Linked DNA regions of Homo sapiens: regions 1 and 2 are each linked to region 3. The links are contacts of gene promoters, found by promoter capture Hi-C in blood cells and fetal thymus (Javierre and others, 2016). All regions are on one chromosome and are shown on one strand. The core of a region is centred on a gene start or on the middle of the fragment in contact, and the rest is flanking DNA. Distances in the headings are between cores, read along the strand shown. Region 1 holds the start of DHX29 (DExH-box helicase 29). Region 2 holds the start of SLC38A9 (solute carrier family 38 member 9). Region 3 holds the start of DIMT1 (DIM1 rRNA methyltransferase and ribosome maturation factor).

What was found. Contacts are between HindIII fragments. The CHiCAGO score rates a contact against its expected background, and 5 or more counts as called.
Region 1: the fragment with the promoter of DHX29 here is called in contact with the fragment with the promoter of DIMT1 in region 3 in 2 of 17 cell types (total B cells and monocytes); the score reaches 10.9 in total B cells.
Region 2: a contact is called between a fragment that was not itself captured here and the fragment with the promoter of DIMT1 in region 3, in 2 of 17 cell types (total B cells and naive B cells). The highest score is 11.6, in total B cells.

What each region holds. Positions count from the first base shown.
Region 1 is chr5:55,306,304-55,309,132 of GRCh38, forward strand. DHX29 (DExH-box helicase 29) reads right to left here and starts at 1,391. Exons shown (of 27, transcript NM_019030.4): 1 at 1,084-1,391. The coding sequence starts at 1,270. It overlaps MTREX (Mtr4 exosome RNA helicase), which reads left to right and starts at 1,686. Exons shown (of 27, transcript NM_015360.5): 1 at 1,686-1,844. The coding sequence starts at 1,711. It overlaps LOC124900979 (a long non-coding RNA gene), which reads right to left. Exons shown (of 2, transcript XR_007058774.1): 2 at 1,846-2,134. RefSeq lists enhancers at 1,060-1,319, 1,460-1,939. The HindIII fragment of the contact is 7,705 bases long and covers 1-2,829 here.
Region 2 is chr5:55,710,145-55,712,844 of GRCh38, forward strand. SLC38A9 (solute carrier family 38 member 9) reads right to left here and starts at 2,180. Exons shown (of 16, transcript NM_173514.4): 1 at 2,073-2,180; 2 at 1,308-1,355. RefSeq lists enhancers at 1,628-1,707, 2,278-2,327, 2,418-2,607, 2,443-2,700. The HindIII fragment of the contact is 3,721 bases long and covers 1-2,700 here.
Region 3 is chr5:62,402,609-62,405,308 of GRCh38, forward strand. It overlaps DIMT1 (DIM1 rRNA methyltransferase and ribosome maturation factor), which reads right to left and starts at 1,297. Exons shown (of 12, transcript NM_014473.4): 1 at 1,086-1,297; 2 at 665-738. The coding sequence starts at 1,164. RefSeq lists an enhancer at 1,218-1,507. The HindIII fragment of the contact is 1,140 bases long and covers 497-1,636 here.

The sequences.
Region 1 (2,829 bases), core at 141-2,640, 7.1 Mb before region 3:
AACTTTTTACACATGATGTTCATTACGCCCGCCTGGAATACTAATTTCTGCCATGCTTCACAGAGTTAACTCCTTTTTCATTCTCCTCATCTCAGCTTAACTGTTACATTTCCAGACACCATCCATGATACCTGCTCATCCCGAGAAAAATTAGATTACCCTGTTAAACTGTCTTCCCTGGCTTTTCTTTGTGGCACTTATCTATTATAAGGCTATAAATATGTCTGTGTGCGTTACCTATTAGTTAATACCTATCTCTGACATTAGACTGGCAAGCTCCATGAGGTGATGTCTCTTTTTGCTCATCACATTCCTCACATCTTATCAGACACATACTAAATATTTGCATATATACACATAAATGCTCAGCAAATATTTCTTGAATACTCCAATAAGTACAAGCAAACAACCCGAGAAGAACACAACAGAATGTAATTGTTCATCTTTTGAGCTCAACCGTAATATGTGGCCTGCTCATCTGCAGCAGGAATCGGCCATCTATAAGTTGAGTTGTCAAATCAATTTGTACAGTAAGCAAAACTGCATGGCGGCAGAAACGAGGGCAGACAATTTTACAATAGATTACACGTAACCAGTGTGTAACCAGTGTGTAAGTCCTGTAATTTTTATTAAGTATTGATTTTTCCAGAACGCATGGAGACACTAGATTGTTGCTGAAAATGATATGAAAAACTGACAGAAAATGGGGCTGGCTGGCACCAGGAGGTCAGGAACTCCACTCAGTACTCGTCTTTGCGTTAGCCTAGCTAGCTGAGATGGTGCTCAGGATGAATTCCTGCTGAAACAGGAGCTAATGCAATTATTTTGTTTTTAGAAGGGGGAGAAGTGTGAGTTAAAAGAGAAATGCCAGGCTGCAACAGGGCTACTGTCAGAATTTTGGAGGCCCAAAGAGCTTAGACTTTTTTAATCTAAAACAAGGCCACCCCATGGGGAGGTAGCAGCTCGAGTGTTGGGAAATAGAAATGTTGGGCCCGAAGCTCCTCCCGGGTTCTAAGGCCCTTTCCTCAGGACAAGCAGCAAGGTCTCAGGGCAGACAGCCAGGGGCTGGGGGACCTCTCGTACCTTGCTTGACACGGGGCTCCCTGGAGCCGGCAGCGGCAGCGGCAGCGGTGGCCGGCCTGGACACTGGCTTCTTGCTTTGGGCCTCCCCGGCAATTCCAGCCTCGGCAGATTTGGCTCTGGAAGCAGACACGGCGGCCCGGACCACCGCGGCCGCTGGAGCCTTGTGTTTCTTGTTCTTGCCGCCCATGTTGCAGCTGTGGCAGAAGATCCTTCGCGGCCCAGGCCCCGACGGTACCACTGCACAGCCGAGAGCTCTTCACATTCCCCGGCTCCGGGGCTGCCACCCTGCGCTTCGATCCGGGCTTCTCGGGCCGGGGCGACCGCTGCCTCGCAATTGGTCGAATTCAGCAGGCTCCGCCTCCTTGAGTCGCCAGCTGCCTGCCACACGCCAGGCGCCACGCGCCGCCCTCGCTCTTTATCCACTGAGCAGCTTATCCACTTTAGGTCGGAAAGGAAAGGAAAGAAAAGCAGGAAAAAAAAAAAAAGTCAGGGGAACATTTTTGTCGGCTGCGCGACTCGACTACTTTTGTCTCCTGCGGGCCACTGTTGAGCCTTCACGAGACGTCACTGTCTTCGGTCGCGGGGCATCGTGGGTAGGAGGGAGATTTGCTCTCACTGCTCCCAAAAATGGCGGACGCATTCGGAGATGAGCTGTTCAGCGTGTTCGAGGGCGACTCGACCACTGCGGCGGGAACCAAAAAAGACAAGGAAAAGGACAAGGGGAAATGGAAGGGGCCTCCAGGGTCTGCAGACAAGGCAGGGTAAGGAAGAAGTTCCAGTTGTTGCTTTTATTTTTTTTCTCGGTGGGGAGGAAGAAAACACTACTCTCTTAGGAAGAGCACGAGAAAGTGAAGTGTACATTGAGTGGCGTTGGAAGTGAAGGGGTTCCAGAAAAAAGTTGGAGAGGGTGGAAGAATGTTGGTTCGTGGAAGGGGGGTCTTGGCGTTTCCTGGTGTCTGCAGGCAGCGTGATCTTCTGCTTCAATTCCCTTACGTCGATGTTACTGATTCTGTCCCCATCTTCGCGGTTGTCTCCTGCATCAGCACAACACCTGGCACATAGTCGTTAATAAACAAAACGAATGATTAGTTGAGTAAAAGGTGAAAAGGTTTAGAAAAAATGATATGAATTGATTTGGAGGGGAAAGGGCAGATAATAACATGAGAAGGGAGAGACATTTAATCTCCAAGATGTAGTAGTTTTCTCTTCCGTAAAATGGAGATAATAGTGCCTACCACTGGTGGATATGAGGATTCAATGAGATACACGTGTAAAGTGCCTAACAGTGGTTAGCTAGCTATCACTAATAAATGGTAGCTATCGTGAGTTTATTGAGAAAAAATTTAAAAATTACTGGACCCTACCCATATGTTTAGACTGGTGCATACAGCCACCAGAAAGTGTACAGATCTGTTTATAGTAGAACAAGGAAAAGCTATTACTTGTATTAAATAAAGTAAGATGATTAATTAACAATCAACAAAATATACTCTTGGCATTGTGGGGCCAGATACCCAATAGATGCTTGAAATTAAATTAGACATGATTTTGCTCTCAAGGAATTTTCGGTGTAGGGAAAGAGAACAGGTACCCATTAAAGAGTTACAGTATAGGTGAGGAGGTCGTTAACTTAAAATGAATGATATATACAATTAAGTGTTATAAAAGTTCAAGAAAGGGAGATCCTATTTCTGACTTTCAGGAAGGCTTATTTATATACAAGAGAATATTCTGAGTTAAGGAAAT
Region 2 (2,700 bases), core at 18-2,517, 6.7 Mb before region 3:
GGGGAAGGAAAGGTAAATTTTATTTTCTTAGAAACAAAGCAACTATATAGGTGACAACTTTTTTTTTTTTTTTTTTAAGACAGGATCTCCCTCTGTGGCTCAGGCTGGAGTGCAGTGGTGCAGTCTTGGCTCACTGCAACCTCCGCCTGCCGGGCTCAAGCAATTCTCCTGCCTCAGCATCCCAAGTAGCTGGGATTACAGATGAGACGCATACCACCACACCTGGCTGATTTTTGTATTTTTAGTAGAGACAGGGTTTCACCATGTTCGCCAGGCTGGTCTTGAACTCCTAACCTCAAATGATCCGCCCACCTCAGCCTCCCAAAAGTGTTGGGATTACAGGCGTTAGCCACCGCAATCCGCCGAACCTTCTATCTTAACACGAAGTTTGTAGTTGTTTATGAGGCAGAGAGATTTTTCTCAAGTTAGGACATGGGTAATTTTGACCTATTGAAACTTTTTTTGTTTAGTTTTTGTTTTTGTTTTTTTTGAGACGGAGCCTCACTCTGTCACCAGGCTGGAGTGCGGTGGCACGATCTCAGCTCACTGCAACCTCCGCCTCCTGGGTTCAAGCGATTCTCCTGCCTCAGCCTCCTGAGTAGCTGGGACTGCAGGCATGTGCCACCACACCTGGCTAATTTTGGTATTTTTTTTTAGTAGAGACGGGGTTTCACCATATTGGCCAGGATAGTCTTGATCTCTTGACCTCGTGATCTGCCTGCCTCAGCCTCCCAAAGTGCTGGGATTACAGGCGTGAGCCACGGCACCTGGCCAAAACGTTTTTAAAAAATCTTTCTCCTCAGCAGCTGCCTATCCTACATATGTCAGATCTTTGTCATGTCTGAAGGTATTAAAAAGAAAAAAGAGGCTGGGCGCAGTGGCCCACGCCTGTAATCCCAGCACTTTGGGAGGCCAAGGCAGGCGGATCACTTGAGATCAGGAGTTCAAGACCAGCCTGGCCAACATGGTGAAACCCCGTTTCTACTAAAAATACAAAAATTAGCGGGGCGTGGTGGCGGGCAGCTGTAATCCTAGCTACTCAGGAGGGTGAGGCACGAGAATCGCTTGAACCAGGGAGGCGGAGGTTGCAGTGAGCCGAGATCACTCCACTGCACTCCAGCCTGGGCGACAGAGCGAGACTCTTGTCTGAAAAAAAAAAAGAAAGAAAAGAAAAGAAAAAAGAAAACAAGGTGGAGGTACAACTTACAACTTATAGTGTGCTCATCTACAGAGCACGGCAATGGATAAGACACTGCCTGGGAGTCATGACAATTAGGTGTTGGTCGAGTTTGCCATTAAATGGTTACCTGGTGTTGAGTAGGTTTCTCCAACTCGGTGGACCTCAGTTTCCTTCTCTGTAAAATGAGGAGAATGCGCTTGACTAGCTGCTCTCAAACCCCTCTTCCAGCTTTACTATGCTGAGATGTCAAGCTACCCACTATCAACACACTCACTCTCACAACTGAGTCGTGTGAAAAGCGTGGCGAGGGCTTACCAGTCATGGCCCTCACCCCCTCTGTGGTCCTAGCTCAAGGCCCAAAGGGGGTTCCTCCCTCATGTTCCCCCTCTAGATGTCCCCAACTCGGGATGGAGAAAGGTGCTCCCAGCCGTGATCGCGCCACCTCACTCAAGCCCAAGCGACGGAGCAAGACCCTATCTCAAGAGAGAGAAAGAAGGGTGCTCCCATTCCTGCAAGTCCCACAATTCTCCTACTCCCTCCTTCTCTCACCCGAGGGTCAGGGTGTTCATTTACCCCAACCCTATCTTTTCTCTAAGGCTCCAGCTGACACCGACTCCCATAGACACTCGGATTTCCTCAGACCCCGAGGGACTCCTGACTTTCTTTCCCTGAGCCCTTGAGGAGCGCGCGCCGTGCCTCCGGAGCAGTCTCCGCGGCTCCAGGCTATGGCCTCCCTGAGCCCCAAAAGAAGAGACGGTTCCGATGCGCTGCAAAGAACTATCCCAGGTGACAGCCGGCTTCGCCCCAACTTCAACCCTTCCCGCCGCCTTCCCTCGGATACCTTCCCACCTCCCCGAGGGGCGAGTTTGCTAGACGTGGGAACGTGATCTACCTGAGCAGGCCGAGCCTTCAACCTCGGAGAACTAGACGAGAAGATAAAGATTCCCTTCCCAAATTCTCGCAATTTGCGACCGCGGGGCTCCTAGTCCAAACAGGAAGCGGCAATAGCCTGGGTCGCAGGGGCCGGCGGGAGTTGGAGTTCTGAATGCGCCAAGCCCGCGGTCGCTGTCAAACCTCTCGCCGCTACGGACTACAACTCCCAGAGGGCTCTGCGACGGCCAGCACGCCCATCACCGCAGGGCCCAGCCCCGAGGCTTCAGGAGGCTGGGCAGCCGGCGCGCCCAGGTGGGCGAGTCCAGTCGGAACTGCAGCCCCGAGTTTGCTCCAGTTCCTTGTCCCGGCTGGAGGCTGGGAGGGGTAGTAGAAGGAATGCAATCTCTTGCCATTCATAGAGCCCCGGAGGCCACGTGAGAAAACGCTGATGCGGCACCTCCATCGAGGGATCACCCCTCTTTTGGGCTTTCCTGGCGCGTGTTGTATGATCTGGTTACGTCCTTGGACCCTACAGACACAAAGGGAAGCTGGTTTGAAAAAACTGTTGAGTTGGCATGCTCCCTCCGTCGTCTAGATATTTGGGTTTGTTTTTTAAAAATGTGTTTGCAAATTAGTCTCTAGGCTAA
Region 3 (2,700 bases), core at 47-2,546:
AGGAAACTATGAGCTAAAAAGGTTAAAATAGTACATGACCCTTCTTTCTTTTTTTCTCAGTTTTCAAATGACACGAAGCCTGACAAGATCCTTTAACTATGTAATGCTCTTTCTACAGCTCCAGGATGCTTTCCTTGCTTTTAACCATAAGTGTAATCTGCACCGTGTGTATTTCACTTCCTAACACCCAATCATCCATAACCATAAGAGAACATCAATAACTCAGAAAGCAGTAATACTCCAAGCAATTTATATGTGGTACTAGCATACACCAAATAATTTATATGTAGTACTATATGTTTTTCTGGGGAACAAACTTTCTAATGTGTAGTTTAGACATAAATAGATGGAGTACATAAAAACTAAGTGATCAAAAAGGTGATTAGAAATAGAAGAATAATTATCTTGAACAAATACAAAGGTCCAGCTATAAAGTAGATAATCCACAAAAAGACACAGAATTGGGAACCAGGAGAAACTCAGACCCACAAAATGAAGCTTATCATGCAGAAGACAGCCCAAGAATCCTAGACAATTATTTGATTCATTCAACAAATATTTACAGAGCATCTAATTTACGGCAGGCAGACTTTCTGCGCTTATGTATTCATAGGAATAAAATTAATAAACCAACAACTCTCTCCCTTTCCTCTTCCACACCCACCTTATCGATAATGCTGTTAATAATGAGAGGATTTTTCAAAATGTGCTGCCCAATCCCCGTGTTGAACATGAGTCCTGTAAGAAAATACGAAACAGCATTAATTTTCCTACTGAGATTAGATATTAGGCAGTACCAGAGAAGAAAGCTGCATGGGTATGGGGAAGATTTCTGCGCCAACCAGGGCCACGAAACGTCACGCCAGGACTGACAAACTCTTTATAAGTTCATCCTCCAGCTGGAAAGGAAGTCAGCGGCGACGCGCAGGGCCTGCGGCCGAGTCGGGGACCCACCCCTGCCTTCCGCGCTCACGGGAGCGCGTCCTGACCGGCCTCTGCCGATCAGGTCTTGGTCCGCACCCCAGGCTAGGTCCTGCCGGAAGACCTGACCCGACCGACCCCAGCTTCCTCGCGGGGATCCGCACCTCCAGCGCTCTTCAGCTCCCGGCGCTGCTCCTGCCGCCCGCGGCGGCGGCCGATGGCCCCCGACTTGACCTTCGGCATCTCGGCAGAAAGCGGGCCCACAGGCCCGGGACGTCAAGGAGGACCAAAGAGGGCTAGCGTGAGAAAGCCACCACGTGGGGATCGCCGCCACGCGCCGCCCGCACCACTCTGGCCCAAGCGCCGGAGGGGCAAGGGTCCGCCCCCTCCCGTACGCTCTGAGCTCCTCCTCCAGAAAAAGGGCGGACCTTGGAGCCCACTGACTGCCGGGAATTGGAGTCACAGAGGGAGGAAGGCCGAACCGCGGGAGCCTACAGATCCCAGAAGACACCGCGCTACCGAGGACTGCAGTCTGGAGTTGGAGCCCTTGTCCCAACCAGGGCTGGATAAGAAGGTGTTGGTGTGGTGCTCTCGGTGTTGCGAAGGCTGTTTAAGTTATATGATGAGGTTAAGCCTATGGATGTTTTAGTAGCCTAGGTTCTGGGATCGCTGAGGTCCAAAGAAGTATTCACGTGCCTCGCTCCTGTTTTCCTGAAGCTTGTGGGGGTGGGAAACCCGGGATTTGGGGATGAGCTTGCTCTTTTGTGGGAATGCATTTTTTGCTGCTTGCCCTGGGGAAAAGAACTGCGAGAATGGAATTAACGTCTGGTTTCGCTAGGGCTACTGGTTGCTTCTACTAAGAATAGAAGAGCCGGGCGCGGAGGCTCACGCCTGTAATCCCAGCACTCTGGGAGGCAGAGGCGGGCGGATCACAAGGTCAGGAGATCGAGACCATCCTGGCTAACACGGGGAAACCCCGTCTCTACTAAAAATACAAAAAATTAGCCGGGCGTGGTGGTGGGCGCCTGTAGTCTCAGCTACTTGGGAGACTGAGGCAGGAGAGTGGCGTGAACCCAGGAGGCGGAGGTTGCAGTGAGCCGAGATCGCGCTACTGCACTCCAGCCTGGGCGGCAGAGCGAGACTCCGTCTCAAAAAAAAAAAAAAAAAAAAAGGAATAGAAGAATAATTATCTTAAACAGATACAAAGCTCCAGCTACAAAGTAGATAATCCACAAAAAGACAGAATTGAGAACCAGGAGAAACTCAGACCCACAGAATGAAGCTTATCGTGCAGAAGACAGCCCGTGAATCCTAGAAAATTATTTGATTCATTTAACAAATAATTCAACAAATTCCTTTTGTGCCTCATCATTCACTCCGTAAACATTTATTGAGCTCCAACTGTGTATCAAACACTGCTAGGGATTCTAAGTAAGAAACTTATTTCAAAGTGTATTATATTGACAGAGATGGACAGAAACTCCAAAACGCTGTAAATACGATAACGTATTGGTCGTTGTGACAGGACAGTGTACCTGACTATAAACTCCGTGTGTACCAGGGCCATAATATCCACATCTGTTTTGCCAGCCAGTGTAATGGCTCTTTTAAATTTTTCTGTGTGTATTCTGTTTGGTTGAAGAAATAGCTTCTTCCTGTCATTACTAAAGCTAACTCTCTTTTGAGCAATTCATTGTGTACATTCCCAAACCTTGGTCTTAGGCCCTTCTTTCTTTGATGTAGTTCTAAGTCAGAAAAAAAATCTCGTATACCCTAGTA